2 separate regions of the Homo sapiens genome follow, and region 1 is linked to region 2. Evidence: promoter capture Hi-C in 16 types of primary human blood cells and fetal thymus (Javierre and others, 2016). All regions are on one chromosome and are shown on one strand. Each heading gives the region's core, a stretch centred on a gene start or on the middle of the fragment in contact. The rest is flanking DNA. Distances are from core to core; before and after follow the strand shown. Region 1 holds the start of SERBP1 (SERPINE1 mRNA binding protein 1). Region 2 holds the start of SRSF11 (serine and arginine rich splicing factor 11).

What was found. Contacts are between HindIII fragments. The CHiCAGO score rates a contact against its expected background, and 5 or more counts as called.
Region 1: the fragment with the promoter of SERBP1 here is called in contact with the fragment with the promoter of SRSF11 in region 2 in 5 of 17 cell types (total B cells, naive CD4 T cells, fetal thymus and 2 more); the score reaches 7.9 in total B cells.

What each region holds. Positions count from the first base shown.
Region 1 is chr1:67,426,727-67,432,247 of GRCh38, forward strand. It overlaps SERBP1 (SERPINE1 mRNA binding protein 1), which reads right to left and starts at 3,676. Exons shown (of 8, transcript NM_001018069.2): 1 at 3,262-3,676. The coding sequence starts at 3,574. RefSeq lists enhancers at 2,213-2,849, 3,485-4,120, 3,558-3,827, 4,038-4,117, 4,148-4,327. The HindIII fragment of the contact is 6,007 bases long and covers 2,887-5,521 here.
Region 2 is chr1:70,217,349-70,222,719 of GRCh38, forward strand. It overlaps SRSF11 (serine and arginine rich splicing factor 11), which reads left to right and starts at 4,032. Exons shown (of 12, transcript NM_001350605.2): 1 at 4,032-4,491. The coding sequence starts at 4,289. RefSeq lists an enhancer at 3,926-4,471 and a silencer at 4,367-4,416. The HindIII fragment of the contact is 2,724 bases long and covers 3,078-5,371 here.

The DNA.
Region 1 (5,521 bases), core at 2,426-4,925, 2.8 Mb before region 2:
CATAAATAACCAAGCAAATCAACACACTCACTAGATATGGCCCCTCACAAAAGTGAGGGCCGCACTATGTTATTCTATCTAATCTGAAAAAAAAATGCAATTAAGACTCATAATTCTATAAAATTACAAATCTGAAAGGAAAATATGGCATTTAGGATTATTAGAGAACATCACTTCAGTTTAAAACAGCCATTTAACCAGAAAAAGTGTCATCTTTTGGTCTTCTTAGCTACAGGCACACAAAAAGGGCCATCTTCCCCTATTAAAGTTTAAAATTTTATAGCATGTAAGTGTATATATGTTTGTACACACTCCCACATCCCTAAGTACTTCCAAGTTAGGAAACAGTTACTTATTATGCATGGAGAGAGTCCTCTAAAAAATTTGCCCTAACAACTATCTTTATTTTCAAAGAATCTTTAAAAACCAAATACACACACGTTAAGACCGCTTTTAAGCAACATGTAAGAAATAAGAAAACTTGTGACACTAAGTGATAGCTGAAGCATTTACTAATTTCCCCCTTTACTACTTTTTTCCTGTAATGTCTGAAACCCCACAAAGGCAACCAATTTAAATTATTGGTGCCCATAAGGATCAACAGATTGATGGTTAAATTAATGACTTTAAGATTGTTGGTATGCTCTAATTCCCAATTTCTGACAAAGTCATAAAGCAGCTGAGGAATTGGTTTTACAAGATTTTAAGCTGCTTCACTTTGGTTCTTTCTAAGAAAGTAGAACACCATCAAGACACACCCAGTTGTTCTGCTGCCTGTTAACTGGAGCCAAACAGTAACTATCAATCTCTTCAATAGAATTTTGAAGTTCATTCCCTGTAAATACTCAAGATAGACTACAAATATTAGACCTTACACCAAGGTATTTAAATAAATGTCATCAGTAATAAAGTGCACTGGGGTGGAGTTATGGAACCAGTCCTTGCAATAATATCCAAGCCAAACACACCCAAGTGAACAATAGTTGGCGTCCCCACCCAATATCAAGTTTACAGAATCTTAAAAACGTATTAAACCTACCTAATGAAAAAGACTGACATTTAAAAATGCAAGCTTCTTTTGATATACTTATCTATAACTTGCAAGCTCACTAACTGCACTAGTTTCAAGGCATTCATTCTTTTTTAGAAAATCCCTGGTCTACACTCTCAATGACATTCTGCTGTCAATTCTCAAGTTCTTCAAATGGGCAAGAGAATGTACAAAATTAATTCATAAAACATAAACATTAAATATCTGTCTAAAGTATGTCAAGTATTATGTCACAATGTGTTATCAAAATCACAGAACACAATCAGGTTAACCTTCCTACTACATGCAGCGACTTTGTTTACAGATTTATTCCCAGTAATCAGGACAGTAGAATCTCAAAACGGGTATTGTCCATTCAACACTTTTCCTGTATTTTACATGCTTGTATTTTATGCAACTTAACAGTAGTGCTCTGAAATACTGACCTAAGGAAAATGCTGATTGCTAACATGGAATAGTTTTCCCATGGAAAGACTCATTGAACGGTGAACCTAAGTCTTGGTTCTAACTTCATGAAATCATTCCCCACATTTGTTAACTTAAAATACTACTTTTCAGGTAAGAGCTTATTTCATAGATGGGCTTCATGATCAAAATAACTCAGGCATTTAAACCATGCTTCATGTTTTGAACATTCAAAATGAGTGAACACATCTACCTGGTACACATTATTCGTCAGATTCAACTTTTTCGTGTACTTTCTTAAGCTTAAGCATAGTTTAAATAATTACACAAGTCAGCGTTACTTAACACACGAATTAAATGATTTATTTAATTGTGCTAGATTGCCATAAAGCTTAACTGGCTGAAGAGATACTTGGCCTAAGTGATATACATGCTTTCTAATACTCCAACTGTATTTTTCCTCAACCTATAATTTTACCACAAGAATTAATTATTTTCTTTTATTCACCACCTAGGACCGAGGTTCTTCATTCCGAGCCTCACAAAAGTCCTCAAAAAAAAAAAAAAAAACCCTCCTAAAACAAATCCTACCACGAGAAAATTGTTTTGATTTTTAAAATTAGTTCACTGTTACAGAATTCAACTAAAGCTAAAGAGAAACAACTCCTTTCAGAGAAGCACGTGGCAGGAAGGGGTAATTTCAACTTTCAACATATAAATGCAGCTTTAAAGATTCAGACCTTAGGTCCAACACCTGCTTGCTATTGATCATGCACGTTCTTATCTCCAAACTGCTTGCTCTTTTTTTTCATCCGCAACAAACTGGTAAAGCGAATGCAAAAATCAAGACAATCCTGTGAAACTCACAGTGCCCTAGAAACAACTATTAACCGCCAGTGAAACTCTGACCATGCTTCACGCACATGTGGTGGAAAAAAAAAACTGCGAACTCTAAAGAGCTCTGCTGCGACTAACGCTGTGACAGCCTCTGCACTCACTTCACCCACGAGGCCCAGACCCCACCACGTGAAAGATTCAGTTTGGGGAGTCGAGAGAGAGGATCGTGACTCGAGGACGTTCCTCGGGATGTCCTGCAATCACCAGTCTTCATTCATAATTCCCGCTCCTGGTTAATCGAGTGTGGCCAAACTCCTCCATTTCCCAACGGCTCAACTCACCCCAGCAAGTTATGAGAAAGTCCTAACAGTTGAGAGGTGGAAGAGAAACAAATAAAGGACATGCGGCACCCCAACCTGCAGCTTACTCCACACGTCTGATGGCCTGGAACGACCCCCTGCTTTTCAGCGGGGATACTCCGCGCCGTCGTGGGACAAGACGGCAGGACAGGAGCCTGAAACAACAGCACCTCAAAGGAGCAGCTCTGCGCAGTAAGCAGCGATGGACCCCCAAGCTCCTCCGTAACTACGGAAAGCTTCGGTGAGGGGCCGGCTTCCCCGCACCTCAGTCCATGCGCTCACCCGCCAAGGAATCCGGCGGGAAGGCAACAGCCTCCCAGGACCTCGAGCGCGCTCGAGGAGCAGCTCATCTCCGACCACGCTCCTCTGCTCACAACCTGAGGCGGGAAGGGGATGGCTCCGAGAACCTCGCCGGCGGTGGCTTGAACTTGGGGCTACCACGCTCCTGGCACCTTCGCAGGACCGGACTTTTGTCGCGTGAAGAAACGTGAGGATATAGGCGGCAAAGTCTCCCGCGGACCCTCGGAGCTCCAGAAACAAGTGGCAGCCGGCAGCCCCCTCGCTCCTTCCCTCCATCCCAGTCTCCCCCACATTCTGCCCCTGCTTTACCTTCTTTCTTAAGCGCCACGGGCGGCTGCGTCTCCTCTTTCTTGTCAACCACGCCAACGCTGGGGGGCAGCGGGTTCTTGCGGTCTTTCTGGGACTCCTTGCGCAGCTGTTTGCCTGCCGCGTTGGAGTTGGTCTGGGCCGCGGCCTGAGCTGCGCTCTTGGCCCCAGGGCCCCCAACGCCGCCCCCGCCGGCTTCTTTTTTCTTGTTCTCTGCTGCCTTCAGCACCTCGAAGGGGTCCGATTCGTCGTCAAATAACTGGTCGAATCGGTTGGTGACCACGCAGCCGAAGCCTTCCTGTAAGTGCCCAGGCATGATGGTGGCTCGGCGGCGCGTTCCTCCACGGATTGCAGCGGGCCGCGCCGAGCCAAGAGCGCCTGCTTCAGCTCTTCCCACAAGATGGCCGGGCCGAGAGAGGGGGGCCGTCTTCTCTTCCGGCGCCAGGCACACATCCGGGAGCGGCCTGCGCCGCAAGGCACTGTGGGGTATGTAGGCCAGAGTCATTTCTCCTGAGGCGACTCTCCGCGTCGGGACTACAATTCCCAGGACGCACCGCGCGACAACTCTTCGCGCGCGCCTGAGAGGCGAGACCCCATGAGGGGAGTGAAGCGTGCGGGCTGAAGGAAGGGAAGCGTGGTGGTGGGCGGAGTCCTGCCACCTGCTCTGGCCACCCTTAAACTCTCTAGGTCTTCAGCTACCTTGAAACCAAAAAACCGTGACGGCGTAACTGACTCGCGAAAGTGCTCTTTGGTTTCACTCACGCCCCCTCGGGCTCAGGGCTAACTTTCCCCACCGCTCCAGGGGGGTCAAGGTGACTCCCAGACCTTACATCTGAGACGCACAAACTTCCGGGGGAGGGGGTGTTGCTGAGGCGCCGCGCCGGCCGCGGGTAGGCTGGACCCTGCCTGTGCCAAGTCCGAGCTGCTCAGTTGCTGGAGTGGCCCTCCGTCAGCCTCCACGGTGAATCGAGGCTCTTCTGTCTAATGTGAGGGGGAATACGTTTCCTCTCGCGGGGACATGAACTAGGGTAGCAGAACTAACCAAAAAGACAAGTGAAACTATCACATGGGAGCGTGGCGCGTCTTTCCCGGGCTTCTCACCGTGTGGCGGCGGGTGTCGTAGGAGTGGTTAACTCCTGACGGTGCAGCGCTAGACGCGGGGCAAGCCTCCAGGAAGCACTGTTTATAGAAACCCTGTTACAATTATTCCAATTAATCGTCCGTTCGTGTCCGGCAAGTCAGGGCTTAGGTGGCTGTGTTGTTAGTCACATGCGCTCAATACATATCATTTGAGAACATTTCGAGTGCATGTGTGCTAGGAGTTGCGGTGAGGGGAGGGAAATATTGAAGTCAACACTTAATAATGACAAAGCATTGATACTAGTTGAGAATATTAAAATTCATTAAAAGAATACAATTTGAATGCGTATTTAAGCACATTTGGTAGCACCGGGTTTAAGTATATCATAATTTTTAAGTCCTTTTCCATTAACACAAAGTAGCAAATGCATCGCTTATTTGGTAGGAGCTATGAATAACCTTGAACTCAACATTTTGTTAGGCAAATAGTTTGCCTCTTTTCACAAATGTTGAAACCACTTCAGAGATGAAATGATTTACCAAATTCACACCTCTGTAAGTGCTAGTGACAGGCATTAGCCCAGTATTCTATCTCCACTAGGAGACTGGACATCAGCTCTTTAATTCAGACTGCCCTGATAGAAAGCAGTCCAATTTTTAAATTTCCGATATAATTTAAACATTGTTGCGTGTCAGGATATGTAACATGGCGGAATGTAATCATCAATTTCCGAGCAGATTTTAAATCAATTCCTTAGCAGGGAAAATAGAAGACACGAGTCATATTACATACATGGGGCAGCAAGCCTCCTGGTTTTCTTGTTTCTCAATCCTCCCCTATTCCTCACTTATTTCCCTGCTGCCTCAGTCCTGCACCCTGCCCACAACGCCCAACCTCAAACACACCCCCTATCTCATCCCCCCTTCCACAGGCTCTGGTTCTGTGGCACCTACCAAGACAAGGAGCTTTTGACCATACTCTTCCCACCTTTTTGAAATAGCTCAAGTGCAATGTAGAAGATCTCCACATTTTGACAGATTTTCTCTCTTCACGGGCTGTTGCGTCTCTGAGACTGCCTGCATCTTTGAGACATCTGTGAAAGCTCCTCTTCTTAACTCTTTCTGGCCACGGCCACAGTAACAATATTCATACTAAAACGTGATGTTTTAGTGTGTGCTTGGT
Region 2 (5,371 bases), core at 2,782-5,281:
GGTTTCTCCATGTTGGTCAGGTTGGTCTCAACTCCCGACCTCAGGTGTTCCGCCTGCCTTGGCCTGCCGAAGTACTTGGATTACAGACATGAGCCACCGCGCCTGGCTGTGTTGTTTTTTTATTGAAAGTCTGCCATACTAGACCTGAAGTTTTATGTTATCAGGGACATTCACTTCCTTTTCCCTACTCTATTTCCAGCAGCTGGGAAAATCCTTGGAACAGATTTACGTACATAATATTTGAAGAAATTTGTGAGTTTTTTGACTGCCTCTCAATGATATTGTAGATACAGTGAATAAAACAGGCATGAATCCTGTCTCCAGATTCTATATTTTCTATAGTCTTGTTTAATTGTGAGCCTAAATAAATCTGAAGTGATTTAAAACTGTCATAGATTGGTTATATTTATTTGCTTTAATATATCTGTCATTCGTCTTCAGGTATATGTCTTATTCCTATGTAAAACAGACATTAACATAATTATTTAATCTATTAGACCTACAAGAATCTTCAAAATTATGATTCAACTCTTCATTTGACTGAAAAACTGACACAGGTTCTTAGAAGTGAAGTGAAATTTTCTCAAATCACATGCTTGATGACAGGGGTGGGTTTTTTTTGTTTGTTTTTTGTGTGTGTTTTTTGTTTTTTGTTTTTTGAGACGGAGTCTTGCTCTGTTGCCCAGGCTGGAGTGCAGGGACGCGATCTCGGTTCACGCCATTCTCCCGCCTCAGCCTCCCGAGTAGCTGGCACTACAGGCGTCTGCTACCACACCCAGCTAATTTTGTTTTTGTATTTTCAGTAGAGATGGGGTTTCACCATGTTAGCCAGGATGGTCTTGATCTCCTGACCTCGTGATCCGCCCGCCTTGGCCTCCCAAAGTGCTGGGATTACAGGCATGAGCCACTGTACCTGGCCAACAGGGCTGGTATTTTAAGCCAGCCTTCTAACTTTAAATTCAGTAATTTTTTGTTGTTGTTGTTAGCTGCTAAATGATGTGAAAATAAAATATTTTAAAATCCTCTTCAGTTGCATAAACTTTTTGCCACTTAGTTTCTCTATAGCAAAGTATCATCTATTTGTTCAGTAAGTTATTGTACATAAATTGGCTTCTGGTGGTTTAAAGGATTTTATTACAACTACCTTTTTCTTTGGTTTGAATTTGTAGTTTTAATTATGAAATGTGTCAAACATACAGAAAAATGTAGAGTCATATAAAAGATTTATGTGTACCCATCACAGAGAATAAATAAGTGTTAACATTTCAGGAAAAAAAGAAAAAGGCATGAACCCTGACCTTCTGTTATTTGTCCTTTTATCATCAAATATTTTAGCATGCGTGGCATATAGTAGGCACTCACAATAAATGTTAAACTATTAAGTATCTGTAACTGGCAGTTACATATGTCTGATTCAAAATGAGAAAATTAATTACCATTCTTTGTATTCACAGATACTTATTTATGAGTGACGTGCAGTTAGTTATACAATCAGCCTCCATAACCATGTGTTCCACATACTTGGGTTTAACCAACCCCCATCAAAAATATTCAAAAAATAAAAAATAATGACATTAAAAATAAAAGGTTTTAGAAATACAGTATAAAAGCTATTTACATAGCATTTACATTGTATTCAGTATTAAAGTTGAGTATCCCTAATCCAAACCAAAATCCAAAATGCTCCAAAATCTGAAACTTTCTGAGCACTAACTGGCACAAGGTAAATGCTCATTGGAGCATTTCAGATTTTAAATGTTAGGATTAGGGATGCTAAATCAGTGAATATAATGCAGATATTCCAAAATCTTTTTTAAAAATCCAAAATCCAAAACACTTATGGTCCCAAGCATTTTAGATAAGGGTTACTCAAGAGTATGAGGGTATGTGCTTACATTATATGCAAATACAGTTGTACCAGTCCTGAGGTGAGTATTCATGGGGAATTGATACCAGGACCCCAGAGGATATCAAAATACACAGATGCTCAAATTCTTTATGTAAAATAGGATAGCGTTTGTATATAATCTGTGCACATCCTCCCAAATATTTTAAATCATCTCTATACTAATAATAATACAATGTAAATGCTGTGTAAATAGTTGTTAGACAAGAAATAAAAAGTCTGTACATGTTTAGACCATCAATTTTTTTCCAAATATTTTCAGTCCCAGGTTGGTTGAATCCACATACATGGAACCCATGGATACAGATCAAATGCTTTATTACACAACACCATTTTACATAGGGGATTTGAGCATCCTCTGGTTCTGGTATTTGTGGGAGGGTCCTGGAACCAATCCCCCACAGATACTGAGGGACAGCTATATGCTTTTCTTTAAAATTCTGAAAAGTCTTGGCTCTAGCTAATGTTAGTTGATTTCTATGAAGGCCATAATTTGTAATTTTGCTGAGGCTCACATTCAGTCAACCCATCCATTTTCTGTATAAGCACTAGTGAAAGTCACTTAGCCAGTTGGCTCTACACCCAAATCTCAATAACCTTGTGCTCTAATCTCTCACATATTGCATCTTGACTGCATTGTGCCAAGAGGTATTCACTAATGTAGATACTCTGTAAGGCTTCAAGTTTGTTTGTTTGTTTTTACCTCCAAAACATCTAAAACTTTTACCTCTAAAAACATTCAAGGTCAAGTGAATTATTTAGTGAACTGTCTTAAATGCCATTGTCATTAAGGTATATTTGTGCGTGTGTCCAGCACATTCATTGGGACTGACTGTGTGACAGACATTGTGCCAGGTTCTGGACTGACCCAGGAAGCTCACAACTTTGAGTGATACATGTCAATAATAAATACATGTATCTTCTGTTACTTAGCAGAAAAGAGGAAGCCCTAACAGCTTGCAGAAGTCATAGCAGTGAGGGAAGGAATGCTCTACAGAAGATGACAGATAAGATGAGTGATGTTATTAATAACTTGTGTATCGGCACAGAGACATTATGGTTTTTGTCATGTTTGGGGCACTACAAGTCACTGGACTACACACTGGATGCAGTTGAGAGAATAGTTCAGATGAGGTTGAAAACAAAAGCAAGGATTTTTTTAATAGTCAAAAGCTTCAAAATTATTTTAAGCAAGAATATGTATGTGAAACAAGTTTTTCTTGAGAAATTGCAGTATTTTCTTTAGAAATATATACTTGAATATATTTAAGTACTATAAACTGTGTTTCCAAAGTCAGCTATTGTGGAATTGGCTGGGTGCAGTGGCTCACGCGCCTGTAATCCCAGAACTTTGGGAGGCCAAGGCGGGTGGATCACCAGAGGTCAGGAGTTGGAGACCAGCCTGGCCAACATGGTGAAACCCCATGTCTACTAAAAATACAAAACTTAGCCTGGCGTCGTGGCAGGCGCCTGTAATCCCAGCTACTCCCGAGGCCTAGGTAGGAGAATGGCTTGAACAGGGGAAGTGGAGGTTGCAGCGAGCCAAGATGGTGCCACTGCACTCCAGCCTGGGCGACAGGGCGACTCTGTCTCAAAAAAAAAAGTCATCCATTGTGAATGAATGTACAAAACGCTTATTAATAAGTGTAATATTAAAATATATCTTTTCTGAAAGTTTTAGTGACAAAACAAATTAGTTACAGATTTAATGTTACCAAAATTCATGTACATTGAAAATTTCGGGACATTTTATACTGGTGGTGGTGGGGTGGCATCTTAGCTTGGGTTTAAATATCATTAGTAATCGGATAGCTCTGTAGATGATTATCAGTATATAAAGACATCGTGAGCAGTATTTAATAAGAAGAGTTGCTGAAGTGACTTTTGCAGGAGGATGAATGCTTTTTTTAAAAAAAAAGTTTATACGTGCCTCTTCGCTCTTCCAAAAAAAAAAGAGAGAAGAAAAAGAAGAATAAAACGAGAGACGAAGGTGGATAACACCTTTCTCTAGACCCCGGTGCCTCTCATTTCTCGGGCTGCAGGCGACGGCTGCTGGGCCTGCGCGGGGTGGAGCCGACGCTGACGCGCCCTGCGCCGCAAAGCATTGTGGGAGCTCGGGCCCGCTAGTGTCGTGGTTGGAGGCGAGGTGGGGCGGCCGTTTGTTTTCTCGTGGTCTCGAGCTCGCGCGCTCTCATCCCCTCCCCCGCGGCGTGCGGCGGGGCGGAGAAACGGCGGCGGCGGCGGCGGCATCGGCAGCAGTAGCAGAGGCTGTAGCATCGGACACCCTCCTCTCTCCCGCAATCCGGTTCCTCTTCCCCCTCCTTCTCACTGTTTGTTGTGTGTTTGATGTGTTAAAGCAGGAGCGAGAACCCGAGCAGCGCCATGAGCAACACTACCGTCGTCCCCAGCACTGCAGGTCCGGGCCCCAGCGGCGGGCCCGGTGGCGGAGGTGGTGGTGGCGGCGGAGGCGGCGGCACCGAGGTAATCCAGGTGACTAATGTCTCCCCGAGCGCTAGCTCTGAGCAGATGCGGACTCTCTTCGGTTTCCTAGGCAAGATCGACGAACTGCGCCTCTTCCCGCCGGAGTGAGTATCGTCCACCATCACTGTTCCTGCTAACGCCGCCTCAGCCTGGGCCTAACACACACAATTTCCTTAGGCCCCTGTCGCTGCTTCCCCGGGCCAGGCTGCTTGAGTGGCTGGTGGCTGGTGGATTTACTTAAGACGGTTGTGTTCCAGGCCTACAAAAAAATGCAGAGAGGCAGGGCCAGGGCTTTTTGGAATTAGGAAACACTGGCTGTTATTCTCGGGAAATTTTTTTTTTCCGCCTTAAATTGTGCCAACGTGGTCGTTTGGCTTTGGGGACTTAACGCAAGACTAACCGCAGTCTGTACGTCGTATATAGGTTAAATCCCTTTTTTAAAAAACTGAGTATTTGTTCTTTGCGTTCTTGGAAGAAAGGTAACAAAATTATTCATGCCTGTGTTAATTTGGTGTTAAACTTTGTAGGTTGTTCACTTATTGTTATTGCTGTTATGTGGTTCTGGCCCAGCAATATAATTCAAAGATCATATTCTTTTTGACAGACGCTTAGTTTAGTGTGAGCCTGATTACTTAATTTGTATAATGTCAAAAAACGGGTTATAAACCAGAGATTTTCCTTTGTTTGAATAATATACAGATTTGTGATATTTCACAGTTGTTCTTGAGAAGGATTTTTATAAATGTTGAAATTTGAATTAGAGTGTATGACTTTTTATCCTTTTTGTCTCACTTTTATTTTGAAAATTATTTCTATCGCAAGAATATTAAGTGGATGAATTGTAAAGAAAAAATAGTTCAAAGAAGCTAAGAAGTAAGATAAAGTGTACTACTAAAACAGACAATTGGAATAATAATAATAGTCTTGTGCTTTTTGGAAGACTTATTGGTGGAGAAGTGACAATTCAAATGTCATTATCAGTAA